Linked DNA regions of Homo sapiens: region 2 is linked to region 1. Evidence: promoter capture Hi-C in human tissues and cell types (Jung and others, 2019). All regions are on one chromosome and are shown on one strand. Each heading gives the region's core, a stretch centred on a gene start or on the middle of the fragment in contact. The rest is flanking DNA. Distances are from core to core; before and after follow the strand shown. Region 1 holds the start of WTIP (WT1 interacting protein). Region 2 has its middle 34 kb from the start of WTIP.

Region 1 (6,202 bases), core at 1,766-4,265:
TCAGAAAAAAAATGTGCCACCACACCCTACCTTCTTGTATCATCTCCACATTACCTGCCTGGGACCTCAGCCACCCCTATATCATATAAAGATTCAGGGGTGTCTACAGAACACCCCCCTCCCCCGGGCTCTGCAGTACACAGGGGCCGGGAAATGGGCACTCTCCCCTGCAGAGGGCACTGGAAAGCATGCCCTTCAAAACTCAGCCCCAGCCTCTCTTCCTGGCACCTGCCTGACACGGGAGATGACAGCTCCTGGCACATCTCCCTGCTCCCAGGCCATCCAACAGGCGCCACGAGACCTGCCCAGCCACAGAGTCTCACCATGACCTCACAGATGGGAGGCGCTCTCCATCCCAAAGCAGGCGCACCTCCTCTTAGCCCACATATGCCCTCGACCACCTGAGCCCTCTGGGCTGCAACCCCAGGGGGAAGAGCGGGGCAATCTCTCATCCCGCCTGGCCTCCTCTGCTCATTCTTCCCTCTCTCTGGAATGCCCCCACCTGGCCCCTCACTGACAGACTCCTCACCCCTCAAGATCCAGTTCAGGGCCGGGCACGGTGGCTCACGCCTGTAATCCCAACATTTTGGGAGGCTGAGGCAGGCGGATCATGAGGTCAGGAGATCAAGACCATCCTGGCCAACATGGTGAAACCCCGCCTCTACTAAAAATACAAAAATTAGCTGGGCGTGGTGGCGCATGCCTGTAATCCCAGCTACTGGGGAGGCTGAGGCAGGAGAATCGCTTGAACCAGGGAGTCGGAGGTTGCAGTGAGCCAAGATCACGCCACTGCACTCCAGCCTGGCGACAGAGCGAGATTCCGTCTCAAAAAAAAAAAAAAAAAAAAAAAAAAAAGATCCAGTTCAGGGCAGCCGTGAGCTGCTGACACCATTGAACGCTCAAAGACACAAACCCCAGGACAGCCACGGTCCCAGGCATGGTGACCATCCATCCACCAAAGCCAGGTGCTTAATACAGAAGGCGGGTTGGGAAGTTCTCGCCCCAGGCCCCACAGTATACCTCTGCCCCGCTCACAATCTCACCCCAAGAGCTGTCCCAAGAACTAGAGATCAGGGGGCCTGGGCCACACTGGGAAGTGGAGGCTGTGAGGCTGCTGGGCTTTGCAGATGCACCTGCAGCAGGATTCCTTTAGGAAACATCCTATGTCCACAGCACAGTCCGGGCGAGGGCAGCCCCGTGTGACTGGCACGGTTCCCCTCTCCCGCAAAGTGGGCTTTTCTTCCCTCACACAGTCTCCCTCTCCAGCCGCTACCATCACCAAAGCCTGGGTCAGGCGGTATCCGGTGGTACCTGGGCCACTCCATCTCCCGGTTGCTGTCCACACCCATACCGTGGCGGGGCAGACGGGGAAGCACCCCTTTCTGCTCATCACGAAGCATGAAAGGATCAGATAGAATGAGAGCACCAAACGCAAAGAAGAAAAGATCAGGCCGGGCGCACTGGCTCAAGCCTGTAATCCTAGCACCTTGGGAGGCCGAGGAGGGCGGATCGCTTGAGCCCAGGAGTTTAAGACCAGCCTGGGCAACATAGGGAGACTCTGTCTCTACAAAAAAAAAAAAAAAAAAAAAGTAAGAAGAAGAAAAGCTGGGCATGGTGGTGTGCACCTGTAGTCCCAGCTTCTCGGGAGGCTGAGGCGAGAGGATCGCTTCAGCTTGAGAGGCGACGGCTACAGTAAGCCGAGGACGCGCCGCTGCACTCCAGTCTCGGCGACAGAGGAAGACCCTGTCTCAAAAAAAAAAAAAAAAGAAGAAAGAAAAAAAAAAAAGAAGAAAGAAGAAAAAATTATCAGAAAATGGCTCAGTGTGCCCATGAACCTGACTTGCCTGTTAAGTTAGGAACCGCACATCAACTCACTCGGCCAGAACCCCTCGTGTGTCGGGGGACCCAGAGGCAGGGGTGAAGCCGCTGCTGGGGATCCAGGCGCACTCACTCACCCTTTGCGCTCCCCAGTCCCCAGGGGATGCACCTTCCTCGTCCCAACCCCGTGCACTGCTGCACCCCCAGCCAGCCCCGTGCTCTCCTCCGCTGATCCGGCCGCCTACCCGAGGCAGTCTCGGAACCCCGGACCCCAGCCATGCGCGCAGGGAACTGCCGGGCCGAGCGAGCTCACCGAAGTAGTCCCGCGCCGTGCGCGCCTCGAGCGCCCGCTCCAGCTCCCGGGTGAGCGCCTCCAGCCGCCGCTCGGCCGCGCTTGGGCCGCCCTCCCGGCCAGGGGGCAGCGGGAGTGCAGGCAGCGGGAAGGGAGCCGGCCCCGCAGGCTCCGGGGAGCGAGCGGGCGCGGGGCAGGCGCCGGGCGGGAGGAAGTCAGCGTAGGCGCCGGCCGAGCCCCGGGAGCCGAGGCTGGAAACGCTGGAGCGGGCGCTGCCCACCGAAGGCGGCCCGGGACCGGGACGCGGGTCCGAGCGACCGGAGCGCGGGCTGCCGTGGCGCTGGTCGTAGCCCAGGCTGATGCCGCTGGATCGGGCGCTGCCGCCACCGCCGCCGCCGTCGGACCCCGCCAGGCTGGCCCGTGGGCTGCCCGCAGGCTGCGCGCTGAGCTCCGGAACCGCCGCGCGCCGGGGACCCCGCTCCCCGCGGCTCAGTCCGTCCGCCCCGGCCTCGGGGCCGCCGCTGCCCTTCCCTCTGCGGCCCAGCGCGGGCGCCGCCTCGTCTCCAGGCCCAGGCCGCGGCCCCCGCCGCCCCCGACCGGGAGAGCCGCACCCGGGCTCCAGCTCCCGCAGGGCCAGCCCGGCCAGGAGTAGGGCCGCCTCGTCCGCGCCCGCCCTGGAGCGCTGCATGGCCCGGCCCGCCGGCCCTGGCGCGTCACCTCCGCCTCCGCTTCCCGCCGCCGCTCCGGCCGGGCCGCCGCATCGTCCGCCCGAAGCCCGGAGCCCGCCCCGGGACCCCTGGGCGCGGGGCGGGGCGGGGCCGGCGCCGGGCCGGGGTCGTTCCGGCGGCCACGCGCGGGCCGGGGGACGCGGCGCCCTGCTCGGCGGCGCGCGCGGCGGAGGAATGTAAGCTCCCAGGCGCCGGGCCGCGCCCCCTCCTCGCCGCGGCCTCGCGCGGGGCGGAGGGACTCCTTTGCGGGGGCAGGAATGCGAGGAAGGAGACGGCGCTGCGGCCTCTGGAATGTGGGGGGAGTGGCGGCGGCCGCGCTGCGCCGGGACCTCGGAGGGGCGTGGAGGCCGGGCCAGGACGCAGGGGCGGGCGGCGGAGGCACCGCGGGGAGAGCCCAGGGTCTGCGGGGCGCCCGGGCCGTCGGGCCGCTGGGAAGAGCTCGGATTTCCGCAGGCTGAGCTGGAGGCAGCTGGCGCCATCCGGGCCGGAGAGATCCAAGCAGTCGACAGCTTTCCCCACATCCCGCCCCATCTCCCTTCCCTGCGCCGCCTTGCTCTCCGGCGCTGCAGGGCCGACCCAGCTCAGCTTGGAACCCACGGCGCTTCGCCCGTCCCGCGCCCAGGAATACTGTGCGCCTAGCGCAGATGCGTCCCCACGACCCCCTGCCTGGCCCGGGGCCATGTGGCCGCGCACCGGCCTCTGAAGCCCCCATCTGACTGCTGGGGAAGGCGCCCAGAACTAGGAGCGGGTTGGTTGGGGACTGGTCCTCGCGCTGGGTCGCTTCGCCCAGGCCCCCAAGGCCAGGCTAGAAGCAGGCCTCAGGCTCAGAGCCGGTGGGCGGCGAGCCTCCCCTGTGGCCATCACAGGCAGTCCCCGTGAAATATGGGGACTCCTCCCTTTTCCAGCACCTGCATCCAGGGTGGTGGGTGAGGCTTCGAGGGGAGGTCCTGGAACCAGCGGGGCCATAGGGGCCACATAGGTGGGGAATCGAGAGGTGACTAGGGCTTCGTGCCCAAGGACACAACTAAAATCCCTTGTACAAGTCACACGGCTATAGGGAAGAAAACCAAACCGTTATCTGTCAGGGCCTGATGGATCCAAGAAAAGTGTTGCGTGAGAGAGTACTGTTTTCCAGGCCCTCTCTGCTCAGAGATTTTCGGGAAGGCGCCTACAGTGGCTCAGCGCGCAGGGAGCCCGCACGGGAACTGTCCCGGCCAGACCGCCCAGGGCAGTGTGGCCTCAACACCACTGAGCACCCGCTGGGGCCGCTAACCCCAGCACCTTCCCATAGCCTGCGGAGTTCCAGCCCCTGCCCCACCAGGGTAGGGGAAGTGGAAGCAAGCATTTCGTGTGCGCGGAGGGTGGGGGAGTTGCGCTGTTTTGTTTTTTTCAGACAAGGTGTCGCTCTGTCCCCCAGGCTGGAGTACAGTGGTGTGATCACAGCTCACAGTGATCACACACACCCCAGAGTCTCAACCTCCTGGGCTCAAGCAATCCTCCCACCTCGGACTCCTGAGTACGTAGGAGTACAGGCGCACACCACCACACAAAACGCTGAGATTACAGGCATGAGACTCCGTGCGGGGTCTAGAAGCCAGCATTTGGGAGAGCAAATACCCAGGGAAGCCAGGACATGAAAAATGGTCTACCTTTCAAATGAGAAAGGAAAAGCCAGTTCAGTCATATCACATTTCATGGACTGCATTATCTACTATTTAAAAATTACAATATTGGCAGGACTGTGGTGAAACAGTTGCACATATGCTACTGGTATGAGTGCAAATTGGGATATCCTTTTGGGAAGAGCAGTTTGGCGGTGTCAACATCCGCACAAACGAACACGAAACTTAGAAGCAGTAATACTGCTGCTAAACATCTATTCAAGGGAAGTTATCAAAAATGCAGACAATAATCCAATCACAACCGTGTCGTATAATCCCAACATCATTTAGGTAATCTACAGCGGTCCCCAACCTTTTTGGCACCAGGGACTGGTTTTGTGGAAGACAATTTTTCCACAGACAGGGATGGGGAGGGTGGGAATGGCTTCAGGATGATTCAAGGGCATTATATTTATTGTGCACTTTATTTCTATTATTATTACATTGTAATATATAATGAAATAATTATACAACTCACTATACCATAGAAAGAGTGGGAGCCCTGTGCTTGTTTTCCTGCAACTAGACGGTCCCATCTGGGGGTGATGGGAGACAGTGACAGATCATCAGGCATTAGATTCTCATAAGGAGCACACAGCCTAGGTCCTTCGCATGCGCAGTTCACAATAGGCTTCGTGCTTCTGTGAGAATCGTGGTGGGACTCAGGTGGTAATGCTCCCTCGCCTCTGCTCACCTCCTGCTGTGTGGCCCAGTTCCTAACAGGCGGTGGTATACTGGTCTGTGGCCCAGGGGTTGGGGACCCCTGATCTATTCTGTCCTAGGATCTCCAGCCTTCTGAAAAGATGCTCAAAGGGAGCTCTCTGCATTTAAAGGCAGCTGTTGGGCTGAGTGTGATGTAATCCCAGTGCTTTGAGAGGCCAGTATGGGAGGATTGCTTAAGGCCAAGAGTTCAAGACCAGTCTGGGAAACATAGTGAGATTCCATCCCTACAAAACATTAAAAATTAGCTGCCAATGGTGGCACATGCCTGTAGTCCCAGGTATTTTGGGAATCTAAGGCGGGAGGATGCTTGAGCCCAGGAGGTCAAGGCTACAGTGAGCAGTGAGGGCACCACTGCACTTCAGCCTAGACAACAGAACGAGATTCATCTCTACAATAAAAAACAAAAAATTAAACTGGCGCGGTGACGGGCACTTGTAGTTCAGCTGTTCGGGAGACAGAGGCGGGAGGATTACTTGAGCCCAGGAGTCTGAGGTTACAGTGAGCTATAACTGTGCCACCACACTCTAGCCTGGGTGACAGAGCAAGACCCTGTCTCTACAAAAACAATAAAGTCAAGTATTTAATAACTGTTCTGGCTGGGCACGGTGGCTCACTCCTGTAATCCCAGAACACTGGGAGGCTGAGACGGGCGGATCACTTGAGCTCAGGAGTTTGAGACCAGCCTGGCCAACATAGCGAAACCCTGTCTCTATTAAAATACAAATACAAAAATTAGCTGGGTGTAGTCGTGCACGCCTGTAATCCCAGCTACTTGGGAGGCTGAGGCACAAGAATCGCTTGAACCCAGGAGGCAGAGGTTGCAGTGAGCCAAGATGACACCACTGCATTCCAGCCTGGGTGACACAGCAATACCCTGCCTCCAGAATAATAATAATAATAATAATAATAATAATAATAATAATAATAATAATAACAACTGTTCTTTCCCCACCTGCCCACTTAGAGCTTTCAAGATTTAA
Region 2 (6,202 bases), core at 1,391-3,890, 35 kb before region 1:
TTTTTTTTTTGAGACTCAGTCTTGCTCTGTCACCCAGGCTGGAGAGCAGTGGCGCAATCTCGGCTCACTGCAAGCTCCACCTCTTGAGTTCACACCATTCTCCTGCCTCAGCCTCCCGAGTAGCTGGGACTTCAGGCACCTGCCACCATGCCCGGCTAATTTTTTGTATTTTTAGTAGAGACGGGGTTTCACCGTGTTAGCCAGGATGGTCTCGATCTCCTGACCTCGTGATCCGCCCGCCTTGGCCTCCCCAAGTGCTGGGATTACAGGCGTGAGTCACCATGCCTGGCCTAGAATAATATATCTTTAATCTAATAAAGAGCATCTAACAAAAAAATCTTATATTAAACTTTCTATTTAATGGTGAAATATCAAAAGCTATCCTTTTGAATCTGGATGAAGGGTATCCAGAAATACTTATAAAATGTTGCACAGCTTTCTTATAAGCCTAAAATTATGTGAAATTTAAAAATTTATATAAAACACAATGCTATCAAGAGCAAAAACAAAAAAAGTTCCTCTTGAGTTTAGAATAAAAATGCCTTCCTTCACCATTGCTATCCAACATTGTGCTAGAGATTCTACAAATGCAATAAAGCAAGACCAGTAAAATATATGAAGATTGAAGAGGAAGAAACAAATATGCATTAGATATATTTATATAAATAGTCTTAGAGAATCTACAGAGACTAAAGAGTTTTTGAATGTTAAATACAAAACAATATAAAATAATTAAAACCTTCTATATGGCAGCACAAACATTTATAAACTTACACTTTAAAGAATGTAACATTTACAATGGCATTAAAAATAAAAGATGCCTTGGAATAAATCAATTACTACATGTATAAGAGCACCATAGAAATATATATGTAAAAAGTTATAGAGAGAAAATAGGGAAGACCAAAATAAATGGCACCATGTACCAGCGTTATGGAGAGGAATACTCAATACTATCAAAACTTCAATTCTCTCCAAGTTGAAATCAAAAAGTTGTTTCTAAACTTATATGGGAATGCAGAGGACCAAAACCAGCAAAGACACTCTAGGAACAATGCCGAGACCAGCTCAGTCGGGGAGACCCTAACCCAGTGGTGCTAGAGGAGTTAAAGACACACGCACAGAAATACAGAGGTGTGACGTGGGAAATCAGGGGTCTCACAGCCTTCAGAGCTGAGAGCCCCAAACAGAGATTTACCCACGTATTGATTAACAGCAAATGAGTCATTAGCATTGTTTCTATAGATATTAAATTAACTAAAAGTATCCTTTATGGGAAACAAAGGGATGGGCTGAATTAAAGGAATAGGTTGGGCTAGTTAACTGCAGCAGGAGCATGGTGGTGCAGGATATGGAAGGCATATTGACAGTCAGTATAAATACTGATGCAAAGTCTCTTTGCAAGAGTGAGGGCCTGAGTTAAGGCAATGAGTCTGGCTTGCTGAGAGGTGTTAGGATCTGTGGGGTCAGCTAGGTTTGCTTTTGTGAGGATGGCAAAACTAGGTATCCAAAGGCGGAAGTACCTAACCATGCCTAGGAAGGAAAGGAGTTGTTGTTTTGTAGAAGGGATTGGGGTTTGGGAGATTAGCCAGACATGATCAGCAGGGAGAGCATGTGTGTTTTTATGAGAATTATGCTGAGATAGGTTACAGATGAGGATGAAATTTGGGCTTGACTGAAGTAATGGGGGCTGTCTGTGAAGGCTTGCAGTAGTACAGCCCAGGTAATTTGCTGAGGCTGATGGTTGTCAGGGTCAGTCCAAGTGAAAGCAAAGAGAGGCTGGGATGAAGTGTGCAAAGGAATAGTAAAGAAAGCGTGTTTGAGATCCGGAACAGAATAATGGGTTATGGAGGGGTTGGGGAGGGAGGTATTGAGAATAGAAGAGTATATGGCTTTGGCACCATGGGGTGGATAGGCAAGACAATTTGGTTAATAAGGTGCAGATCCTGAACTAACCTGTAAGGCTTTTCCAGTTTTTGGACAGGTAAAATGGGGGAATTGTAAGGAGAGTTTATAAGCTTTAAAAGGCTATGCTGTAGCAGGTGAGTGATAACAGGTTTAATCCTTTCAAAGCATGCTGTGGGATGGGATATTGGCATTGAGTGGGGTAAGGGTGATTAGGTTTTAATGGGATGGTAAGGGGTGCATGATCAGTCACCAAGGAGGCAGTAGAGGTGTCCTATACTTGTGGATTAAGGTGCGGAGATACAAGGGGAAGATGTGAAGGAGGCTTTGAACTGGGGAAAAGGGCAGCAATGAGGTGTGGCTGTAGCCTAGGAATAGTCAGGGAAGCAGATGATTTAGTTAAAATGCCTAGACCTAATAAGGGAACTAGGCAGGTGGGGATAACTAAAAAGAAGTGCATAAAAGAGTATTGTCCAAGTTGGCACCAGAGTGGGGGAGATTTAAGGGGTCTAGAATCCTGGCTGTCAATACCCACAACAGTTATGGAGGCAAAGGAAACAGGCCCTTGAAAAGAAGGTAATGTGGAGGGGGTAGCCTCTGTATTGATTAAGAAGGGGACGGACTTACCCTCCACTGTGAGAGTCACCAGAAGCTCGGCGTCCAGGGGGCTTCCAAGGTGATCAGGCTGCATCAGTCTTCAGCCACTAAGCCGAGAAGATCTGGGAAGGAGTCCGTCAGAGAGCCTTGGGCCAGAGTTCCAGGGGCTCTGAGAGTGGCTGCCGGGTTGGACAGTCCGATTTCCAGTGGGGTCCCACACAGATGGGACATGGCTTAGGAGGAATCCCAGGCTGCAGGCATTCCTTGGCCTAGTGGCCAGATTTCCAGCACTTGAAGCAAGCTCCTGGGGCAGGCAGTCCTGAAGGAACGCCTGGCCACTGTGGTTCAGGTGTTTGGAGTTCTTGTGTGCTGGAGATGTGCCTGGGGTTTCTCTCACAGTGGAGGCAAGGAATTGCAACTCAGAAATATGTTGCTACTTGGCTGCCTCTAGTCTATTACTGTACATCTTGAAGGTGGGGTTAATTAAGTCCTGTTGTGGGGTTTGAGGGCTGGAGTTTAATTTTTGGAGTTTTATTTAATGTTGGGAGCAGATTAGGTAATAAAATGTATATTGAGAATAAGACAGCTTTTTGACCTTTTAGGATCTAGGGCTGTAAAGTGTCTCAGGGTTGCTGCCAGACAAGCCATGAACTGGGCTGGGTTTTTATATTTGAGGAAAAAGAGCCTAAACGCTAACTGATTTGGGAGAGGTCGGATAAAGAAAAAGGAGCGTTAACCTTGACTATGCCTTTAGCTCCAGCTACCTCTTTAAGACGAAATTGTTGGGCAGGTGGGGAAGGGCTAGTCGTGGAATGAAACTGTAAGCCGGACCAGGTGTGAAGAAGGGAGGTGATGAAAGGATTATAGGGTGGGGGAGCAGAGGCTGAGGAAGAATTGGGACCTGGCTTGGCCTGGCGAGGAGCAGCCTGGGGAGGAGGGGAGATGTCAGATGGGTCTGTAAAGAAGAACGATTGGAAAGACGCAGCAACACTTGCGGTTGGGACTGAGGGGACAGGCGGGGGGGGGGGGGGGAAGAAGGAAGATTTGGGATGAGTTGCATTGGGAACAGAGACTAGGGAGGGACCAGTGTGTAAAAGAATGCCTGGACATCAAGCACCTCAGACCATTTGCCCATATTATGACAAGAATTATCTAGATCTTGTAGGATGGAGAACTCGAAAGTGCCATTTTCTGGCTATTTGGAACCATTGTCAAGTTTGTATTGAGGTTAAGTGGCATTGCAGAAGAAAATAAGGCATTTAGGCTTTAGGTCAGGTGTGAGTTGAAGAGGTTTTAAGTTCTTGAGAACACAGGCTAAGGAAGAAGAAGGAGGAATGGAGGGTGGAAGTTTGCCTATAGGGAAGGAGGCAAGTCCAGAGAAAAGAGAGGGTAGAGACACGGAGAGAAGGGGAGGGGGGTGCTTGTCCCCCTGGAAAGTGGAGAGAAAAGAGAGGGTAGAGACAGGGAGAGAAGGGGTGGGGGATGCTTGCCACCCAGAGGAAAGTGAAGAAGGAGTGGGGAGTGTTTCCCCACAAGAAAGTGGAGAGAAAAGAGAGGGTAGAGACACGGAGAGAAGGGGTGGGGGGTTGCTTGCCCCCCAAAAAGTGGTGCTTGCCACTAAGGGTGAAGGATCAAGGCAGGCGTCCCCGCAGTGATCAGACACCTCTGAAACGTGGGTGAATAATCAAGCAGGTGTCCTCACAGTGATTAAACACCAAGGGAAGGCTGTTTTCCCGAGTCCTTGACTGGCACCAGAGTTTTGGGCTCACGGATAATACGCGTCTTCTCTGTCTCTATCAGAAAAGGAACTGAAATTAAGAGAAGGGAGAGATTGAAGTGTGGCGCCAAGACTGAAAGGAGAAAGAGGTGGAGGGATAGTGAGAGAAGTTGGAGAAGAGAGTAAAGAGAGGCCACCTACCCAATTTAAAATTGGTGAGATGTTCCTTGGGCTGGTTGGTCTGAGGACCAGAGATTGTACGTGGATCTTTTTCTCATGGAGCAAAGAGCAGGAGGACAGGGGATTGATCTCCCAAGGGAGGTCCCCCCATCCAAGTCACGGCACCAAATTTCACGCGCGTACGTGTGAAGAGACCACCAAACAGGCTTTGTGTGAGCAACAAGGCTGTTTATTTCACCTGGGTGCAGGCGGGCTGAGTCCGAAAACAGAGTCAGCGAAGGGAGATAGGGGTGGGGCTGTTTTATAGGACTTGGGTAGGTAGTGGAAAATTACAGTCAAAGGAGGTTGTCCTCTGGCTGGCAGGGGTGGGGGTCACAAGGTGCTCAGTGGGGGAGCTTTTGAGCCAGGATGAGCCAGGAGAAGAAATTTCACAAGGTAATGCCATCAGTTAAGGCAGGAACAAGCCATTTTCACTTCTTTTGTGATTCTTCAGTTACTTCAGGCCATCTGGATGTATACATGCAGGTCACAGGGGATATGATGGCTTAGCTTGGGCTCAGAGGCCTGACAGCTCTGACATACCCACTGACCCCAGGGCACCTCCTGCCAATGTGTTTGGCACAGGGAACACCCCCACACCGGCCCCATGCTGTGCCCTTGTGGCCCCGAGGCTGCAGCACAGGATTCCTGTCTGGCCCTGGACCTGCCCAGGGCCCTGCTCTCTGCCACCACTCACAGGACAAACCCAAACAATTGCTGTCCTCCCTCTGAAATGGTGGCCATGGGGGTGCAGGGAAGCCCTCACATCCCTCCTGTGCCCAGGCCCCTCAGCCCCACGCTCTGGCTGGCTGCATCTGCCGTCCAGAGCCCTTGGTCACAAGACGTGCAGCCCGGACCAAGTGATGACAAGGGAGCCCCTTCCTAAGCCTAGAGATGGTCTAAAGCTTCATGGAACTGCTGGTCCCATGCTGGTCCACTGCTGGGACTCACCTGCAGCCAGATTCCCAGGTGAGGCTGAGGTGGCTTAAAGTGGTGCACGGGAGATGTCTGATATCAACCCTCTCCTGGAGGTAGATGATGTCTCCAGCCTGGTGACTTCCCTGGCCTCCAGCCACCACCACCCCCAGTGTCCCCAAGGCTGAAGGTGCAAGCTTGCCCTGGCCCTGGCCCTGGCATAGAAAGTGCACGATCTGGTCATGTCATGCAGGTGAGGATACCTGTGTGCCAGGTAACCTCATGCGGGCATGGTGGCACTTGTGGGGCAGTCCTGTAACCTGCAGTGTGGTGGGTGGGATGGATGTGTGTGACACAGGCAGGAACTTCCCCTCATGGTAGTTGAGGAACCACGTGTGTATTGGGTGGGGCTGATGGGAGTGAGAGGTGAGTGGCTGGGCACAGGCAGGTGAGTGAGTGACAGCTACACAAACCCCACCACTGAGCATGTCCCTCCCAGGACAAAGCAGATCAGAGCCACAGGCCCAGCCCTGGGAGGCCCAGAGGGGCCTCAGGTCCTCAGGGACCTGGCCCTCTTGGCCCTCAGAGGACCCCACTCCCTCTAGAAAGCCCCCCAGCTGGCTCCACCTGCAGCTGTGCAAGTGGGAAGGGGACACAGTGCTCTGAAGTCCAGAGAAGGAAGGAAGATGGAGGGAGGGCCGCCCTCTGCTCCCAGGCCCTCTATTCCCTGACCCTGATGCTCAGCCCCCTGAGGCCCTCCTGGAGCCCACATCTTTCAGCTGCAGTCTCCCAGCCTCTCTCCCCAGGACGAAGCCCACTCTGCCAGTGCTTTTCCACTGTAGCTGGCTT

Evidence for each region. The method cuts DNA at HindIII sites, captures the fragments that hold promoters and counts their contacts. A contact is called where the count stands out against the background at its distance.
Region 2: a contact is called between a fragment that was not itself captured here and the fragment with the promoter of WTIP in region 1, in 2 of the 25 tissues and cell types used here (H1 embryonic stem cells and spleen).

Annotation. Positions count from the first base shown.
Region 1 is chr19:34,478,571-34,484,772 of GRCh38, reverse strand. It overlaps WTIP (WT1 interacting protein), which reads right to left and starts at 3,015. Exons shown (of 8, transcript NM_001080436.2): 1 at 2,132-3,015. The coding sequence starts at 2,798. RefSeq lists enhancers at 1,977-2,631, 2,632-3,287, 3,288-3,942. The HindIII fragment of the contact is 21,139 bases long and covers 1-6,202 here.
Region 2 is chr19:34,512,863-34,519,064 of GRCh38, reverse strand. No RefSeq gene overlaps it. Among named protein-coding and RNA genes, the nearest start is that of WTIP, 34 kb to the right of the region's middle. The HindIII fragment of the contact is 7,287 bases long and covers 1-6,202 here.